Linked DNA regions of Homo sapiens: regions 2, 3 and 4 are each linked to region 1. The links are contacts of gene promoters, found by promoter capture Hi-C in blood cells and fetal thymus (Javierre and others, 2016). All regions are on one chromosome and are shown on one strand. The core of a region is centred on a gene start or on the middle of the fragment in contact, and the rest is flanking DNA. Distances in the headings are between cores, read along the strand shown.

Region 1 (4,875 bases), core at 44-2,543:
GATCTCGGACATATTTCCCACATACACAGTGATTTGAAGTAAACTGCAGTTTGTTTTGAATAAATCTAAGTTATATGTTGTATTACTATGTATTGCTAAATTCTCTGCACTACTGTCATGCAATACTAATTTTACAGGGGAAGCTGAAGCCTGATTAACTTCGTCAGTGCCACAGGAAGAAACAAGAGACAGAAGGAAAAAGCACTTTGGATGCCCGCTGTAATTCACAGAGATCTCCACGGTAGGAGCGGGACGTCAGCTTCTGCGGCTAAAATCTCGTGACTGAAGCAGCACAGATCAGAAAGAACGATTTACCAGGTATCTATTTCGTTCTAGAAAGGGGCCCATAAACCTAAAAAGCATCCAGGAGAAATCGCTTCCTCCCGCTTGGCGGCAAAGGACAGAGCAGGAGGGCGAGCACTGAGTGTTTAAGAAGGATGAGGCCTACATGGCAAAGGCTTCGATAAGTAGGGAATGCAAGGAAACAGAAAAGGGGGAATCAGGTTCGCAAAAGTTTACCTTTTAGCGCCAGCAGGTGCTCCTGTTTAGGGGGATTCACTTCCATTTTGACCGGCACTTTTGACCCACAGCCTACGGGGGCTGGACAGGTTCAACTTGCCCCGGAAGGAAACGGAAAACCTCGCGTTTGGCAAAACCAAAAGTCAAACGCACTCTCAACCTCTCTCTGGTGGTGGTACCTTAAATTCTCCTACTGTGTCCTTTACAAACTGGCTTCTTTTCAACAAGTCCATTTCTTCTATCTTAGAAACGTAGGCATAAAATACTTTGTTTTCCATCTGCAATCACACATCGCGACTGCAGGAAAAGAAACCACCCCTAGGTAACAATACGCGGCCTCCCAAAGGCCAACGTTGCCGGAGTTTTTTTTTTAAAAAAAAAAAAAAAAAAAAAAAAGAGAGAGAGAGAGAGTGGCATGCTGGGATTTGTAGTTTATACAAAAACCGCGTTGCATGCAGGGAGATGCCCGTACCCCCTCACCGCCCTCAGTTCACGCCCTGGCTGGTTTGGATTCGAGAGGAAAAATCATTAAAGGATCTGGAGTTTTCACCCCAAAACTTTAATCGTTTTGTCCCTTCTTTTTTTTTCTTGTCTTTCCTCCAGCAGCTGCAGACTACATAATGAAAAATAACAAAAGTGCCCATGCGCGAGGCTGTGCAACTAACCACCCGACGATTGCGGGGAGGAGGAGTAAGAGTCGGCTAAGCGGCGCCCAGTGTCCTACTGCGCCTGTGCGCCGGTGGCGTGCGCAGAGGCCTCTGGGTAGGTGGCTCAACCCCGCCTCTCAGTTGAGGACTCTGAAGGCTGTTTCTGTGGCGCTTCCCCTGCGAGGATGGCTACCCTGGTTGTAAACAAGCTCGGAGCGGGAGTAGACAGTGGCCGGCAGGGCAGCCGGGGGACAGCTGTAGTGAAGGTGAGGGACCTTGCGTGCTCTATTCTCCACCATCGGCCTCCCTTCGGTTCATCCTGGAGACCTGGCGGCATCGCCGCGGCCCAGGCTTCGATAGGTGGGATGCGCGGCCTCTGGGCCCCTTTTGGCATTACAAGTCTCGTCCTGTCCTCTGCATCCTTTCTCTCCTATGGCCTGAAATTGCCTGGTCTTCTGCTCATGACATGTCATCATCGGGACATTTGTGAAAAGGAGCTTGCGGGCCAGTGGCAGTGACCTAGACCGGTCTTTTCTCCAGGTCCTCTGCTTTTAGTTAAACTCAACAGACATTAATTAGCTTAGTATTATAAATTGAGTCATCATCATCGTAACTACGTACTAAGTTAGGTGTTTTAGCTCGTTAATATCTACTTATGAAGTAGATGTGAATTCCCATTTTACAGGGAGGAAACCCAGGTTTAGGTAAACAGTGTGTGGCAGAGCCCCGGGTTGACCGGCTTTAAAGTCTGTACTTTTCGCTCTTGTACTGCGTCTGTAATCAGACATCTGTTATTGGGTGAGCTGCCCCCTCCCCTGTTAGTAGTACAGTCTATTAACTCTTTGCACAAGTCTGCAGCATCGTCATAGCTGGGCATTAACGATAGAGTTTATGAATTTTCTTATGCTTGAAGTTTGAGATTCTACCATGTATACATGCTCCAGAATCAATTTGCTAAAAAATCATTTGAAATATGTGGCACTCATTTTTCCCTTCCACTGTTGTGCACGGAAAGATATGGAGGGGAGAACTGATCCCATTGGTTTATAGAGTAACCTTCAGGAGCATCTCTAATCTAAGAGATTGATAATTCTCATTCCTGGCTACATATTAGGATCACTGAGGAGTTTTAGTACACTACTGATGCACTCCTCCTCCAGTTCTGATGAGGTTGACATCAGTATATTTTAGGAATTACCAGAAGTTATTTTAATGTGCAACCAGGGTTATGAATTACTGATCAAGGTAATATATGAAGTTTTTTTCACATCTTGAAAAGTAGACACCTATGATTATTCAGGTAATGTTGGTTTTATATGACAGCAAATGAGACATTTCTTCCCACAATTTAGTATCAGTGAATATTGGTGGTTGTTGATTCAGATGACCTTTAGGTACTAATGAAGTTATTCTACAGGTACACGGCATATCTGATATGCAAAGGAGCCCTCATTATTAGGCATGTTGTGTGACTGAGATTTTATTTATTGAATTGTGCTTTTGCTAAGTAGAGAATACTTGAAGAGCAGTTTGTGAATTAACTTGAAGTTTAAGTTTTATTTCATAATTGGAATGGGTATCATTGCAGTATCTATTTTTTTGTTACCCTGTTTGCCTTACAGTCTCAAAAGTGTACCAAAGCCTGATGTAACTCCAGTTTCTTACAGCACAGAATTTGATACATTGGAGGCTCACCTTGTTCATTTTCATCTTAACATGTAAAATATTCCTGAACTGTGCAATGAAATAGTCCTTTCTGACAAAATCTTCATGCCATAATTTGTAGTAGGTATAGTAGCATAAACTAAAAAAATCTCACTGTCATTTCTATAGATGAAAGCAAGAAGTATTTATTGGAAGGTAAAAGTTGAAGTATATAATGCTAATACTGTGTAAAATGGCCTTTTGCTTGTGAACAAGTTGATAATGACATGGCTTTTATCATTAGAGAAAACAGTAACATAAAAATCTGATATTGTGGCTAGGCGCGGTGGCACACGCCTGTAAAGCACAAAGTGCCTGGGAAGCACTTTGGGAGGCCAAAGTGGGCGGATCACTTGAGGTCAGGAGTTTGAGACTAGCCTGGCCAACATGGCGAAACCCCGTCTCTACTAATAATACAAAACGTAGCCAGGCATTGTGGTGTGGGCCTGTTAATCCCAGTTACTCAGGAGGCTGAGGTAGGAGAATCACTTGAACCCAGGAGGCGGAGGTTGCAGTGAGCTGAGTTTGTGCCACTGCATTCCAGCCTGGGTGACAGAGTGAGACTCCATCTGAAAAATAAAAGATAAAAAATCTGATATTGTGAAATAACTGACATTTAAAAATGTATCACAGAAAGTTTCACACCTTTAATCTCAGCACTTTGGGAGGCTGAGGTGGGAGGATTGCTTGAGCCCCAGAGTTTGAGACCAGCCTGGGCAACATGGTGAGATCCTATCTCTACAAATAATAATAAAAAAAAATTAGCCAGGCGTAGTGGCACATGCCTGTGGTACCAGCTACTTGGGAGTCTGAGGCAGGAGGATTGTCTGAGCTTGGGAGGTCAAGGCTGCAGTGAACCATGCTCAGGCCACTACTCTCCAGCCTGGCTGACAGAGTGAGACCCTTTCTCAAAAAAAAAATAATAATAATAATAAATAACAACATAAAATAAAATATCTGATTGATTACAGTTTGATTTACAAGTAATAAGTTTGAAGCTTTTTTGGCATTTTTTGAAGTGTAAAATTAAGAGCTTTTTCCTATCTAGGGTTTTTTGCTGTTAACCACAATTCCTATTTATAGATACTGAGGAAATATTTTCTTGCTGTATTATTTACCGAGTTGATGCAAAATAGTCTAGTAACTTTATTTTTGGACCTGTGTTTGGTTTGCTAATCAATGGAATTTTATTAGTGCTTTTTGAAAAATACATTAACAGCATAAGGAAGTTCTTTTAAATCTTTGTATAGTGATGGGATCAGAGATACAGGATTGAAATGAACTAAACAATTTTAATATGGTTCTTTGGAGTTTATTGTCATAAATTTACTTTATTAGAGTATCATAATACAGCATTTATAAAATGTTGCATTTATTTTATATCAAATTCTATTGTGAATTTTTGAGACAGAGCCTCACTCTGTCGCCCAGGCTGGAGGGCAGTGGCACAATCTTGGCTCACTGCAAGCTCCGCCTCTTAGGTTCATACCATTCTCCTGCCTCAGCCTCCCGAGTAGCTGGGACTACAGGTGCCCGCCACCGCGCCTGGCTAATTTTTTGTATTTTTGGTAGAGATGGGATTTCACCACGTTAGCCAGGATGGTCTCAATCTCCTGACCTCGTGATCTGCCCGCCTTGGCCTCCCAAAGTGCTGAGATTACAGGCGTGAGCCACCGCACCCAGCCTATGAATATTTTTTCTATATTTAATTGAATTTTTTTTTTTTGAGGCAGGTTCTCACTCTGTCACCCAGGTGGGAGTGCAATGGCACGATCATGGCTCATAGCAACCTCGACCTCCTGGGCTCAAATGATCCTCCCACCTCAGTTTTTGATTTTTTTTTGTAGAGACAGGGTCTCGCTGTGTTGCCCAGGCTGGTCTTGAACTCCTGGCCTCAAGCAGTCCTCTTGCCTTGGTGTCCCAAAGTGCTGTGATTACAGGTGTGAGCCACAGTGCCTGGCCTAAAGAATTTGATAACGTGAAACTTTCCCCTTTTTAAAAAATG
Region 2 (5,563 bases), core at 3,001-5,500, 5.8 Mb before region 1:
ATCCAATATGCTCCAATGAGCATTTCCCTGGAGCATCACTTTGGCACTCAAAACATTTTAGACTTTGGAGCATTTTCAATTTCAGGGATGCTCAACCTGAACTATTATTGGTCTATTTTACAGATGAGGAAATAGATTAATTAAATTACCCAAGGTCACAAAGCTAGTAAAGAAATGAAGCTGAGATTCAATCCCTAAGTATTTAACTCCAGGGCCAGCATGCTCTACTGCTGTTACCTGCCCTTCTAGAAAAGAAATCAATCCTCAAGATTAAAAAGAACATGGACTCTAATATATGCATAACACAAATTTTTCCCACTTGTAATTTTCCATAGTCAATTTAGAAAACATTACCAATTCATTCTGCTCAACTATATTCGTCTTTTTTTTGGAGACAGTTTCACTCTATCACCCAGGCTGGAATGCAGAGGCACAATCTCGGCTCACTGCAACTTCCACCTCCCAGGTTCAAGCAATTCTCATGCCTCAGCCTCCCCAGTAGTTGGGATTACAGATGCACGTCACCAGGCCCAGCTAATTTTTGTATTTTTAGTAGAGACAGGGTTTTGCCATGTTGGCCAGGCTGGTCTTGAACTCCTGACCTCAAGTGATCTGCCCCCCTAGTCCTCCCAAAGTGCTGGGATTACAGGCATGAGCCACCACGCCCGGCCTATACTTGTCTTAATTCAAATAAATATATCACTTATCACTTGGACATCTTTATGTGAAAAATCAGACTGAAGGTTTATTTTATAAATATGTTTGTGTATGTGCATCTATGTGTATGCGTATGAAACTTATTTGTGGTCTTCACCAAAAACAGTGAAAACATAAATAAATAATGTAAAAATTACTATCAGTGAAAAATGTAATTTAAGTCCACGGTGTATCAATCAATCCATTAACAAGAAGGGATGTTCTATTGACTAAGGGATGTTATGTGGTTTTGTTCCCCCATCAAAATGCTACAAATGCTTTTCTTCCCAATGATTCCTTACTAACATAAATAGAAGGCAACATCAAAATCCTGATTCTCCTCCCTTACCTTCTCTTTTCTCAATTCTTCTTTTAACATTTCCCTCAGTTTCTGGGCTTTGTATATTCGGTATCTGTCTGAGCATGGCTGTTTCTCTTTTGTTGAAGTGGCAGTTGGCTGTGGAGCCTCTTGATTAATTGTAGATAAGGGATGAGATTCTGAAGGAACACTGACACTAGACTTAACCAGGCTAGAAGTACTTGATATTCGCTTTCTTCTCTGTGAAACAGTAGAGGAAGATCTACTGGATTCTTCAACATCATTGTCACCACCAGTCTTTTCAGTACTGTTGAAATTAAAAAAGAAAAAAGAGGGCACATGAATCTTCTGTTACACATGCTAGTTTTAAAACCTAGTCTGGTGAAAATCCAAAACTGCAATCTCGTAATTAAAAAAAAAAAATTAGTAACTTGAGATTTATGATAATTATGACAGGTTACAAAAAAATTTGTTTAGTAAATCTTTTAAATATACGTAAATTCTAATAGACTCTTAATCTTTTTCAAACATAAAGTCCCTAGGCACATTACAGCACATAATTATAGGCTTACCCCCCTCAAAACAAATAACCAACTTACAGAACAAAGCTTAGTCAACCTAATTTGAATTACTAAGTAACAAAGTAATAATTTATAATTAATTTCTATATAAAATTTAAAAAAATTTTAATTCACTCTGACATTTTAAACTGGTCTAAACTACCGGCATTTTACTTTACTTATCAACCCGAGGTCAGTCAAATCAAATATGCAAAACTCCAAACCTCTGAAATATCTGTATTGCAGTATTTGAAGAAAAACATTTAGTTACAGTAGCCAAACCCAATTCCCTTTGAGGCAGAAATCATTTATCTTTTGTCAGGTACAACTCTACTTATACAGCCATCAGAATAAACTTCAGTCAAAAAAAGTACTCAGTCACCCCAAATTGCATATTAGGTATGGTATACCTCAGATATAAGTATTTCAGGAATGGTCTATAAATGCAACTTAAGTCAAGAAAAGAGGTGGTATAAGTCAATAATTAAAAACAGTCTACTTTTTTCCTATTTTATAATTACTTATAAAAAATTAGAAAATGCCTTAACTTATAGAATAACCTTTCCAGGAAGACTTCAATTTAAATTCGTATCTTAGCTGTTATGGATACATGCATTATCTGCATTTCACCCAATTATGTTGAATGCATAATGACAGAATATATATCCTATAGAGTTTTACAACTAGCAAAGACCCACAAAAAAATAAAAAGAGGCTGGGCACGGTGGCTCACACCTGTAACCCCAGCACTTTGGGCTGAGGCAGGTGGATCACTTGAGGTCAGGAGTTCGAGTCCAGCCTGGCCAACATGGTGAAACCCTGTCTCTACTGAAAATACAAAAATTAGTTGGGCGTGGTGGGGCACGCCTGTAGTCCCAGATACTTGGGAGCCTGAGACAGGAGAATTGCAAGAACCCGGGAGGTGGAGGTTGCAGTGAGCCGTACCACTGCACTTCAGCCTGGGCGACAGAGCAAGACTCCATCTAAAAAAAAAACTAATTAAAAAAAAAAAAAAAAACCACTTTCCCAGAGTCAGTAATGGCAAAAAAAGTGACTAAAAAACAAATTATATTCCCCAAACGTAAATGTCAACTCAAAAAAAAAAATTAAATATCCTTGACCATAAATATCTCAAAACTACAATCTTTGGGCAATTTATTAAATTATCAACCATCACGCACTCACACATAATTAACGAAATCTCTGAGAACTTTATTAATGTAACAGCGACTAGTATCGGTATCTCCTTTCTGTGTAGAAATTTTGAAACAGATTCATGTAATAAACTTGGAAATTACTAACCATCACTGAACTATCAACGTAACACCATACACTCAGCACCAGTTCAGGCCAATAGAGGAAGATGTTCCAAAAATAAATAAATGTTTCACCTTCCTATCACAGCATAAACAGAATTTGTACTATCTCACTTCACTTAACAAGGCTGTTTACTGATTTCCTCATATATATAGAAACAGAGACCATCTTAGCCTAACATGTCTTAAATTTACTCCATCACCTTTCTAAAAAACTAGTAACTTTTTGCGGGCAACTATTCTGCTATATCCCCTGCAAGGTAGTTAATATGAATTATCTCCAATCTGCACCAAAACGCTCCAAGTAGGCAATATTATTCCCATTTTGCAGATGAGCAAATTCTGCCTGAGAAAAGTTTACCTGTAGACTAAAAGAGTCCTGAATCCAAATATGATACATGACGCTAAAGCCATGCTTCTCTATTCAGGAAACACGGTCACCATAGTTAAAGAGGCACACTTCAATTAAGTGACCAGAACTCTTACTCACTGACATAAATCGGTAAAGCCAAAGCAATACTTATCTTCTCCTTTAAAAAATAAATATTTTATAAATTGAAAGACAAAAACACTTCCCTGCAAAGCACTCCAGAAGGATGAAAACTATAGTGACCTAAATTCTCAAATGAATAGTGTGGATATTCTTCACTTCAGGACTGCCATACCCCGATTCTCCCTACCACCACTTGAAGACATGGTCTCCTCTCGGAGAATCTATAGACCGTGACAAAATCCACACAAGCCACACCCTGCAGGTCAGACAACTAAACTGCAGTTTGGAGTGGTTTCATCAAGCCTCAACTGAAAGGCTTACTGCAAACGAGAGCGGACTCCTGTGATAAAATTCATTTGCTCAGCTTCCAGGTGACATGCCCGGAGAGGCGGGACAAATGAAAATTCTTCCCTCTGCAACCTCTTACCTGCTCCTAGGAGCCTTTTCTTGGGGCTCCGCTCCACCGAAATCGACTGTGGGCACATCTGTGGGCTCCGCGGGCTTGGAAGCAGAGTCCGTGGCAGGATCCGGCGGCCTGGGAGACTCCCGTCCACGCTGGGGATTGGAAGCTGTGGAGCCCCTGGCGCCTACACCAGGCCTGACATTCGGCTTCACGCTAAGGCGTGCCCTGCGGAACATGGCGGAGGCAGGGGGCCCGGGGAGGCAGCCTCACGGCCGCTCACAGCCCCGAGCCCCGGCGGCTGCCCGGAAAGGGGATTAGGAACTACGCCCTCCCCACAAAGCCACACCACCAGCTCAGGGGGCAGCTACCGTAGTTTCACTGCCCCGCCGCCGCCTCCTCCTCTCTCCCGCCGCCGCCGCTTTTTCATGACCCTGCCACACACCGATGGCTAAATTTCACCCTCCTCCCAGCATCCCCGCGCTCACAGGACGCCGCAACTGATTGCGCCATCAGCCAGCGCCGCAGAATGACGTCAGACGCACAGCACTGGGAGCCATGGTAACTACCAAGCTACTGAGACTGGGTTACCTGCGGACCAGAAATTGAGATGCAGAGATATTTGCTCTTTCTTCTCCAGGAGTCCTTAGGAGTAGTTGAAAAGAGGAACAGAAGAAAGTCCACTTCTCTGCTCAAACCTTTACTGGAACTATTAAAATCGCTGGCCGATTTTGTCTTTTGAAGATCCTGAAGGGTTTAGAAATTCTAAATTGAGTAGACATAGATTAAAAATGCTGGTGTGAAGAAACTGATAATAGTTACCTCCCAGGAGAGGAATGTGTTTCTGGAAAACACGTCGTGGTAGGAAGACCATTTACCGTACGCCTTTGTGTACTTTTTTGTTTTTGTCCTTTGAGACAGGGTCTTGCTCTGTCGCCTAGGCTGGAGTGTGCAGTTGCGCGATCTTGGCTCACTGCAGCCTCCACCTCTCGGGCTCAGGCGATCCTCCCGTCACAGCCTCCCAAGTTGCTGGGACCACAGGCACGCGCCACGACACCCGGCTAATTTTTTTTTTCTCGTATATTTAGTAGAGACGGGGTTCATCATGTTGCTTAGGCTGATCTTGAACTCCTAGGCTCAAGCGAGCCACCCATTTGGCCTCCCAAAGTGCTGGGATTACAGACGTGAGCCACCACGCCCAACCTCCTTGTGTACTTTTTAATATGAATGTATCACCCGAGATCGTACCACTACACTCCAGCCTGTTTAAAAATTATTATAGTTGAAACCTTGTAAATTATTGTGAGTGTTCTTAATCTGCTTCAGGAGGTAGCAGTAAACAAGACGTTCTGGATTTGGGAGGAGAAAATACAAAAAAGAAATGAACAAGATATTTTTAAAATGTATCAGGCCCGGCGTGGGTGCCTCATGCCTGTAATCCCAGCATTTTAGGAGGCTAAGGCAAGGCAGATTGCTTGAGGTCAGGAGTTCGAGACCAGCCTGGCCAACATGGTTAAACTCCATCTCTACTAAAAATACAAAAATGAGCCAGGCCTGGTGGTGCAAGCCTGTAATCCCAGCTATGGGAGGCTGAGACAGGAGAATGGCTTGAACCCTGGAGGTGGAGGCTGCCGGGAGCCAAGATGGCACCACTGCACTCTAGCCTAGGCAACAGAATGAGTGAGACTCTGTCTTAAAATAAATGAATTAATTAATTAATTGCAATAAAATAAAGTATATCAAATGTCATGAAATAAATTTAAGGGTTGAATGCCGGGT
Region 3 (4,774 bases), core at 647-3,146, 7.9 Mb before region 1:
TCAGTTAATAATTCTCTGTTAGAGCATCCAGAGTATAACATATGCTAGAGAAATTGGCATAAACACAAATCCCTTCTCCCTCATTACGTCCCACACTCACCTTATAGTTGTTCCAGTACAGTGTATCTTGGGTGATTTTTTCACCAAGTATAGGATATGTCTGAATAGCTACAGGCTTATAACCAGCCATAATTCCATATAATTGCACTATTGTCCAAGAGTCACTATTTTGGAATTGGTATTAGAAATAATTACAGTGACTCTGCCTTAATTCTGAAAAATAAAATATTTTATATACATATTATAAGCTTGTACACATAGTTGATTTTCACTCTGCTTTCTTTAAAAAGTCTGTGTGGAAGTATATAGATTAGAGACCAATAAGCCATTTAATTCTAACCCAGAAAAGGCAATCTATAGGAAGCAGGAATAATTAAAGTGAAGGCTATCATATCGCACCATCTATTCAGCTGTACACAAAGGTTCTCACACCTAGCCAACCATTTTACAACACTTAGGAATAAATCTAGCACAGCCTTACAGTAGCCAAACCAAAAAGGATCATGCTGGCTTTGAGTGTCCATTTTTTGGCAACAGGAAATATTAAGGTGAAACTGCAAATACAAGTTTCCTGAAACCAAGTTTAAGATGACATTTAATCTATAACAATTATAGTTACGGATTTGATTTCCTGAAAGCCTAAAAATGCCAAGAAGTAAGAAACACAAAGCTAATATTCTAATGTAGAAGCTTAAAATTAAATTTACTTTAAAAGGTTTAAACAGTAGGAAAGAAAACTGTAATAAAGCAGTCCTGAAATTAAATTCAACACTAAAGTGGCAGAATAGGATAAAACTTTTAAATAACATGCAATCAAGCCAAAACATTTTTCCAGAACGACTCAATTGCAAAAGAGATTCAATGTTATCAGGTAAATGATTCCAGAGGTGCTGCTCATCATCTATTCCAAAAAGCCTGAAAACTTTACATTAGTAACACCACGATAAATAGGTGTAACATATATTTAAAAGGTGCTTTAATGAAATACAATGACCAATGATTGTATTTCACTGGTCTTTGGGAACACTCTTCTGTTCATTAAAGTACCTACCAATGTGCAGGACACTGCTCTAGGCACTGGGGCTATAATGGTGAATGAAATAAAGACATGGTCTGTGCCTTTGCTTACTCCAATATACTCCATTTTGGCTGGTGACTGGCACCAGATATTAACCTAGACTCAGCCTTGACGTGTCCTTTTCTTCCTCACTCCTAACATCCAAATAGTTAACAAGATCTGCTGATTTTATCTCCCAAATATTTTAAAACTCCATTAGGTTCACTTCACCTGAGGGAGCCTCGTAAGCAAAGGCAAAGATGGAAATGTGTCCATTGCCTTGGAGAGTTGCTGATTACTCCGGGAACTAACAACGGTGGACAGGAAAGGGTGTAATCGCAGAGAAGAACCTAGGTCGAAGCTTAATTGAGGGGAACTTGAGCCGGTTAAAGAATTTGGCCACTCTCCTATATAGCCTGGGAAGCCCCAGAAGAGCATGCCAGATTAACACAGGAAGGCCGGGTGTGAGTGTGGGCTTCCCTCAATGGGAGCCGCCTTCACCTACCTCCACTGAGCCCCAAAGGGTCCGACGAGACACCTCGACCCAAGGACAATTAATCGGACTGTGCCAGCTCCCTACCCTGCACAGTTCAGCAGCACTGGCGTAAAAATCACATGGACCCTCAAGGAGCCGGCGACACACACAGCGAACCGAACGTCGCGCGAAGATGACGTACCAGAGCACGCTCATGAGACTCACGCAGCCCGGCGGCGCAGAGGCGGGTCAGGTGGGCGGGGCGATCTGGAGTAGGAGGTGTGACCGGAGGGCGAAATTGGGGCTTCCTCTGCTCTGGTGACCCAGAACCGTCAACTGAAATGACCCTGTCTGTGTAGTACTCCGGCAGGATGGGCCTCGGAGCGTAAAGGCGGCAAAAACAAAAATATTAAAAAAAAGGAGAGAGGGACAAAAAAAAGAAAACCCGAAAGTTTCAGCTGCATTGCTGCGGAACGTTTTTTAGCCAGAAGGCGAAAGAAGAAATCGGAAGTGACGTCGCGGCCAAAACAAGCCCGGGCTTGGAGGCCTGTACTGAAGCTGGCCTCAGATGGGAAGGCCCGACTCGCTGTCTGCTGTCGTCGGTGGTCGCGAGACCTTGCACTCTCACCGGGTCGGCCTCCAGCCCCTGTGCCCGGGATCCGCTCGCCGCGGATGAGCGAGAGTTTCTTCCTGGGACTTTTCGGGCACAGCTGGCCGGTGGCGACAGAACGGACTTTCTTTCCTGCAAGAGTCTCCCCTCCAGCGGGAGACAGCGGGCTCCTGTCTCGGGACGCTGGGACACCTGTCGCCTGTGAGGCATCATTTATTTTCATAGCACCTTCCTCTCCTTGTAGAATAATTCCAGGATCAGGAAGAAACGAGGGGCTCCTGTTATTAGCATCCACAGGAACTAGCATAGCTGCCCACTTTATCTCCGTAGACTCTCTATCCCTTCATCCCTGGGCTCTGACAGATCGAGGTGAACCTAGCTATCGATTGCCTTACCCCCTTTTTCTCACCACCACCTCTTCTAAGTCCTGTTACCCCACTCCCCTCACCCCCGCCTCCCTCTCCTGTTCTTCAAAATTTTGGCCTACCAATCAACTTTGCTTCTCCTCTCGTTAAACTGCTGTGCCAAGATAAGCGTTCATTTTCCACCCACCCCCTTCGCCTAAGCACATTTGCTATTCTCCTCTCGAAGACCTGTAATTCCATCTATAAACCCTGATTTGTAACATGGAAGCTGTTTAGAGCTGGAAAGAATATTAGAAAGGCCTATTTCAACACCTTTTTATAATAGATGAATTTCAGAAAACTTGTATTATTTATTTGTCCAGGAGTGGCCAGCTAGTTAGTAGCGATGTTGGGAGTGGAAAGCCAGGTCTAATCAGCAAATGTTAGAAATAGAAAAGAATATGGAAAAAATTGTTAAAGTTAAGATCAGAAAACATTTATGGAGCACCTGGTAGGACCAAGTACTGTTCTGTGTGCAAAAATTAGTAAGAGTGGTCCCCATCCTAGGGGAGTTTTCAATTTAGCTGTTATTTAAATGGAAATTGTCAAAAGGATGGTGAATGCTAAAATACAGATACATGCAGGGTGCTCAGAGAGCTTAGGGGAGTTGCACTTAGCCAACCGCTGGATAGGAGAAAGGGGGAGATGGTTCTTCCCTCAGGAAACACAGTTCACATTGTCCAGTCCCTTTTAAGACGCATGGACTAATGCATTGCACATCCATCTCCCTTTGAATCACTGAACTAATTTTCTTTTCTGGTTTCCTTCTTTTTGCCCAAATGTATTAACCTTCTTACTTCCTGCTTTTTTTTTTTTTCCTTACTATACTATGTGTTATTTATTCAACTCTCTCGTGGAGATTTTGGCTTTGTTTAGGGCTGCCTCATTTTAATGGTCAGAGTGATGGAGTCAGAAGAGCTGAGTAAGCCCTCATAATTCATGAGCTTCCTTTTTTACCCCTCCTAGGTGGACATATGATTACCTGACCTGCCTACTCAAAGGATTGTTATAAAGACTAATCTTTGAAAATGTTTTTAAAATTGTAGAAGGTGGTTATCTGTAAATGTATGGTTTCGCGACCCTTGCTCCACTGCGATCCTAATGCATTTTTCTTTTAATTCCAATTCCAATTTTGAAACACCCTGCACCCTCTCAAAATTCCTAAGAGGCAATTAACCCTAACATGAAAAAATTAACTGGATGTTATTAATTTCCTTTCTGTCCCAAATGATAATGTATCTAAGACAACTATACATCTTGGAAAGCCAATCCATAATCTACCTACTTTATTTTTCATGAAAACCTACATTAAGTTGCTAATGCTTAATCGGAACAAAAATTCATAAATGTACCTTCAGTTCATCAAAACCAAAGCTTTGTAAAGCCTTTCATGGTCTAGGAATCACAGGTGTTATAGATGACAATGCCAATAAACTTGGATACAACATGAATTATCATTTCTTAAATTCAAACTAAGGGCCACCTATATAAACATAGCATATTAAAGAACTAACCTTAGGTAAGAGATTAAAGTTTATTTTCATTGTTAGCCTGATCTTTTATCCATTTGGTGATATTCAGATATAGGAAATGGGAGAAACAGTAACTAAAATGTATTGGAATTTAATGATGGAGGTGAGAATATCACTGTACAGTATTTCATTTGGTCTTTACCAGAACCCTATAAGGTTAATGGTGATATCCCTATTTTATAAATGACACGGAAGCTCAGAGGGATTGAGTAACTTCTACAGGTCACACAGCTAATTAATGGCAAAGTTTGGATTCATACCCAGGTTTCTCTACCTCTGAACATTATATTCTTTCTATTATGTGTAGGTGCTTTCAAGAGCATTGTTACAATACTTGATTGAAAATGATTATTTTGTGTGTTTTTACCTAAGCTGATAGAATACTTTTAATTTTCTAATTTTTTCTTTCAGATTTTTAAATATCCAGATTCCAAGAACACACTGGATACTGCTCTTACAAAACCAAGAGGAAATCATGAAGAAATGTTTTAGTTATTGAAACTACAGTTGAAATCATGGATACATCAACAAATCTGGATATTGGAGCCCAGCTTATCGTGGAAGAGTGTCCCAGCACTTATAGCCTAACTGGCATGCCAGACATTAAAATAGAACATCCACTGGACCCAAATTCAG
Region 4 (4,756 bases), core at 2,010-4,509, 6.0 Mb before region 1:
TGATTTTAGAGTATATCCTAGAGTCTATGTTCTGAATTCACTAGTAGTTACATAAATTACAGAGTATTTTCTCTGCAGCTCACATATTGCAAATAATGCCTCATCTCCACCACATTTATTAAATACATGCTATGATAGATCTGGAAAATTCCTATCTTCATTTGTACCAGGTAAAAATAAAATTTTAGAAATTACTTCCATGATAAGTGCAGTAAATTTACCTAAAGATGACATTAGTGATCCGTAACTTTTTAGGCTTGCAACTGGGTGAGTTGAACACTTTAGCAATTTAAAAGTCCCCTTCCTTGACTCAGAGATTGTCTTCAGTGCTTCTCAACATTGCTCACATCATGACAGACAAAGAAAATTATAACTGAAGAGCCCACTGGAGTATTCTTGGGAATATCTATAACCCACTCTCGGCAAACCAAGGTAATGGAGCAAGAACAGAAGTATCAAATTGTACCTTTAATAATTAAAACATTAGTTTATTTTTATTGGTGTCCAAGAATTTCATCTTAATATAGTCTTTGTCTAATGAAATGTTCAGCTATTTCAGAAAGCTATTTCTTTGTTTATTTAGGCAAGAAAATAATCTCAAACGATCTTCCAAGTAGGACCTTTTTTTTTTTTTTTTTTGAGACAAGATCTTACTCTGTCACCCAGGCTGGAGTGCAGTGGTGCCAGCATGGCTCACTACAGCCTTGAACTCCTAAATTCAAGTGATCCTCTCACCTCAGGCTTCCCAGCAGCTGGGACTACAGGCATGTGCCACCACTCCAGCTAAATTTTTGTGATGAGGTCTCACTCTGTTGCCCAGGCTGGTTTCAAACACCTGGCTTCATGCAATTCTCCTGCCTTGACCTCCCAAAGTGACAGGTGGGTCATGCCTGTAATCCCAGCACTTTGGGAGGCTGAGGTGGGTGGATCACTTGAGGCCAGGAGTTTGAGACCAGCCTGGACAACATGGTGAAACCCCATCTCTACTAAAAATATGAAAAATTAGCTGGGTGTGGTGGTGCATGCCTGTAGTCCCAGCTATTCGGGAGGCTGAGGCGGGAGAATCGCTTGAACCCGGGGGGCCAAGGTTGTAGTGAACTGAGATCGCGCCACTACACCCCAGCCTGAGTGACAGAGCAAGACTCCGTCTCAGTAAAAAAAAAAAAAAAGAGAGAGACTTAAGACAACATCACTCTTTAGCAATTCTGTCTAGAGTGGGGCCTTACAATTTGGAGCAGCTGGTGAATTCTGGTTTTATTAGGAAGAACCAGAAAGAGGGTTATCCTTGATGCAGGCTCACAGAGCACATAATTAAGCTCCCCTGACATTTAATTCTTGGCAAAGCTGTGACAGCCAAGTTTGTCCTTTCCCCCTTCTCCCTACCTCCTTCCCCAGGGAGTCCGGCTCAGTCCTCTACCCTCCTGTGGCCACCAGCCTGCACCACGGTTCCTCAGCATCCACCATCCCCAGCAGGCACCTGATGCCACAGGACTCCTCAACCCTCCATTGAGTCAAACCCACCTCTTTTTTTTTTTTTTTTGAGACGGAATTTCGCTCTGTTACCCAGGCTAGAGTGCAATGGCACCATCTTGGCTCACTGCAACCTCCGCCTCCCAGGTTCAAACAATTCTCCTGCCTCAGCCTCCCGAGTAGGTGGGATTACAAGCATGCGCCACCACACCCAGCTAATTTTGTATTTTTAGTAGAGACAGGGTTTCACCATGTTGCTCAGTCTGGTCTCGAACTCCTGACTTCATGTGATCCGCCCACCTCGGCCTCCCAAAGTGCTGGGATTACAGGCGTGAGCCACTGTGCCTGGCCCCAAAACCCACCATCTTAATGTCTAAGGGGGACAGTGAGTTCACCAAATCAAACTCTCAAAATGGGCATAACAATTGAGTTATCACCCCTAACAAAACACTTTCATTTCAGCAAGAGTTTGAATTCTTTTTCTGGAGACAACACCTTGATCTAAAATGGCTTCAAAAGTATGAATTCCATAGCTGCGTACAGGGGCACAGGTACAGTCTCAGCTACTTGGGAGGCTGAGGCAAGAAGATCACTTGAGCTCCCGACTTCGAGTCCAGCCCGAGCAACAGAGTGAGGAGACCCTGTCTCTAAATAAACTAGTAAATAAGCAATTCTAGACCATACTTTCCAAATCCAGTCTTCTTCACTATTTTTATACTCCTGAGATCCAGTATTTAAACTACTCTAACCTAAATGTAAAATTTTACATTAAAAGTATTATATACAATTTTAAGTATTATATACTTGTTGATAAAAGTTATCTGAAACAGTCTATCAAATATGAAGAATGCTTTCCATCTGAGATTCAGCACTTAGGGAGGAAATATTAAATGCCTACTAAGAAATCACTGGCCAGGTGTGGTGGCTCATACCTGTAATCCCAGCACTTTGGGAGGCCAAGATGAGAGGATCGCTTGAGCCAGGGGTTCAGTCCAGCCTGGCAATAGAGCAAGAACCCATCTCTTAAAAAAAAAATTAATAAAAATTAAAAATAAATTATTTATTCATAAAATTTATGAATTTGAATCTTTACTTTTCCCCCCAAAAGTGGTAGTACTCTATGAAGAGAAAAACTGGCCAAGTAATAGGAAAAATAAAATTAAATGCCTGCATACCAACAAATGCATAGTCTTAAGAGTCAAAAGCTCAGCCAGGAGTAGTGGCTCACGCCTATAATTGCAGCACTTTGGGAGGCCAAGGCAGATGGATCACTTGACATCAGTAGTTCAAGACCAGCCTGGCCAACATGGTGAAACCTTGTCTCTATTTAAAAAATACAAAAATTAGACAGGCATGGAGGCAGGCACCTGTAATCCCAACAACTTGGGAGGCTGAGGCAGGAGAATGGCTTGAACCCAGGAGGCGGAGGTTGCAGTGAGCTGAGATGGCGCCACTGCACTCCAGCCTGGGCAAGAGAGCAAGACTCCATCTCAAAAAAAAAAAAAAAATATCAAAAGCTTAATTCCAGTATTTTTCCTAAAAGCAATAACTATTTTAGGACATCTTAAGTAAAGGCATAAGCTGTGGAATAAATGCTGTGTTTACCTAGTTTTATATGCTCCACTCGTTCATGGAGCTGATTTACTAGTGCTTTCATCTGCTTGTAGTTCTCCTAAAACAGAAATAGAGGAGACAGGGGAGAGAAATATTAGAAAGCAATTCCTTTTTACCAAAATAAAGGTCAAAAAAAAAAAAAAAACAGTGGTCTGTGCCAACTCTGTGTGGCCGCCACACTGGGCCACCCCATCTGTGGCAGCCACGCTGGGCCACTGGATCGTATGGAAAAGATTCACCCCTGCCTGTCTTGTTCAAGCTCTTCTTCACCACCCCACTTGTCCATCTCTCCATATCTTACTCCTCTGTAAGCCTAATTCATGTTTTATCTCATCTTCAACTCTACTTCTGGCCACTCCTACTCAATTTAACATCTTTCTTCCTTAAACACCTTCTGAACTTAAACTGATCTCTATTTGTTTTCCTATTTTAAGGAATATAAGCTTTTTGAAGGTTAGAATACCATCTTATTTTTCCTGTCCCATCAGTCACTATCTGAGATTCCAACCAATGCTTGCTTACTGACAAAGTACACTTAAAAACAAATCCCAGAGGGAGAAAAAGGATCTTATTTTTATTTTTAATTTTGTATTTTTATTTTTTGGGACAGAGTCTCCCTTTGTTGCCCCGGCTGGAGTGCAATGGTGCAATCTCGGCTCACTGCAACCTCCGCCTCCCGAGATCAAGCGATTCTCCTGCCTCAGCCTCCTAAGTAGCTGGGACTACAGGTGTGTGCCACCATGCCCAGCTAATTATTGTATTTTTAATAGAGACCGGGTTTCGCCATGTTGGCCAGGCTGATCTCAAACTCCTTACCTCAAGTGATTTGCCCATCTCGGCCTCCCAAAGTGCTGGGATTACAGGCATGAGCCACCGCACCTGGCCAAGGATCCTATTTTATGTTTTAAAAAGAACAGGCTGAGTGTGGTGGCTTATGTCTGTTATCCCAGAGCTTTGGAAGGCGGAGGCAGGAGCATCGCTTAAGCCCAGGAGTTTGAGACCAGCCTGAGTAACATAGGGAGACTTCCATCTTTACAAAAAGAATAAAAATAAAAAGAATAAAAATTTAAAAATTATCTGGGCATGGTGGTGTGTCCCAGCGACTTGACCAACTAAGGTGGAAGGATCTCTTGAGCCCAGGAGTTTGAAGCTGCAGTGAACTAGGATCGTGCCATTGTACTCCAGCCTGGGTGACAGAGCAAGACTGTTTCAAATAAATAAATAAATTAGTAAAAAGAACAAAACTCGGCCAGCCGTGGTGGCTCACGCCTGTAATCTCAGCACTTTGGGAGGCCGAGGCGGGCAGATCACCTACGGTCGGGAGTTCGAGACCAGCCTGACCAACATGGAGAAAACTCGTCTCTACTAAAAAATACAAAATTAGCCAGGCAAGGTGGTGCTTGCCTGTAATCCCAGCTACTCGGGAGGCTGAGGCAGGAGAATCCCTCGAACCCGGGAGGCGGAGGTTGCAGTGAGCCAAGATTGCATCATTGCACTCCAGCCTGGGCAACAAGAGCAAAACTCCATCTCAAAAAAAAAAAAAAAAAAACAGAACAAAACTCTATGCTGGCATATATACACAAATTAAGTAATACACAAGGAAATATTGACAGTGAGAAGTAGAAAAGAGGTAGAGGGACTAACTTTTCACCCTTCTGTATTTTTAAATTTT

What was found. The method cuts DNA at HindIII sites, captures the fragments that hold promoters and counts their contacts. A CHiCAGO score of 5 or more calls a contact.
Region 2: the fragment with the promoter of BDP1 here is called in contact with the fragment with the promoter of TRIM23 in region 1 in 2 of 17 cell types (total CD4 T cells and non-activated CD4 T cells); the score reaches 14.5 in total CD4 T cells.
Region 3: the fragment with the promoter of ANKRA2 here is called in contact with the fragment with the promoter of TRIM23 in region 1 in 1 of 17 cell types (total CD4 T cells); the score reaches 5.3 in total CD4 T cells.
Region 4: a fragment that was not itself captured here is called in contact with the fragment with the promoter of TRIM23 in region 1 in 2 of 17 cell types (naive CD8 T cells and non-activated CD4 T cells); the score reaches 5.8 in naive CD8 T cells.

What each region holds. Positions count from the first base shown.
Region 1 is chr5:65,620,751-65,625,625 of GRCh38, reverse strand. TRIM23 (tripartite motif containing 23) reads left to right here and starts at 1,293. Exons shown (of 11, transcript NM_001656.4): 1 at 1,293-1,432. The coding sequence starts at 1,352. It overlaps TRAPPC13 (trafficking protein particle complex subunit 13), which reads right to left and starts at 599. Exons shown (of 13, transcript NM_024941.4): 1 at 520-599. The coding sequence starts at 565. SHLD3 (shieldin complex subunit 3) reads right to left here and starts at 599. Exons shown (of 2, transcript NM_001365341.2): 1 at 520-599. RefSeq lists enhancers at 1,084-1,163, 1,294-1,623. The HindIII fragment of the contact is 4,327 bases long and covers 1-3,870 here.
Region 2 is chr5:71,454,338-71,459,900 of GRCh38, reverse strand. BDP1 (BDP1 general transcription factor IIIB subunit) reads right to left here and starts at 4,250. Exons shown (of 39, transcript NM_018429.3): 1 at 3,812-4,250; 2 at 1,046-1,322. The coding sequence starts at 4,023. RefSeq lists enhancers at 3,463-4,388, 4,389-5,315. The HindIII fragment of the contact is 8,261 bases long and covers 1,626-5,563 here.
Region 3 is chr5:73,562,761-73,567,534 of GRCh38, reverse strand. ANKRA2 (ankyrin repeat family A member 2) reads left to right here and starts at 1,896. Exons shown (of 9, transcript NM_023039.5): 1 at 1,896-2,403; 2 at 4,550-4,774. The coding sequence starts at 4,654. UTP15 (UTP15 small subunit processome component) reads right to left here and starts at 1,792. Exons shown (of 13, transcript NM_032175.4): 1 at 1,623-1,792; 2 at 101-273. The coding sequence starts at 190. RefSeq lists enhancers at 1,527-2,081, 1,653-2,212, 2,223-2,432, 2,453-2,502, 2,082-2,636. The HindIII fragment of the contact is 2,502 bases long and covers 1,481-3,982 here.
Region 4 is chr5:71,591,312-71,596,067 of GRCh38, reverse strand. It overlaps MCCC2 (methylcrotonyl-CoA carboxylase subunit 2), which reads right to left. Exons shown (of 17, transcript NM_022132.5): 2 at 3,076-3,142. Among named protein-coding and RNA genes, the nearest start is that of MCCC2, 6.4 kb to the right of the region's middle. The HindIII fragment of the contact is 540 bases long and covers 2,990-3,529 here.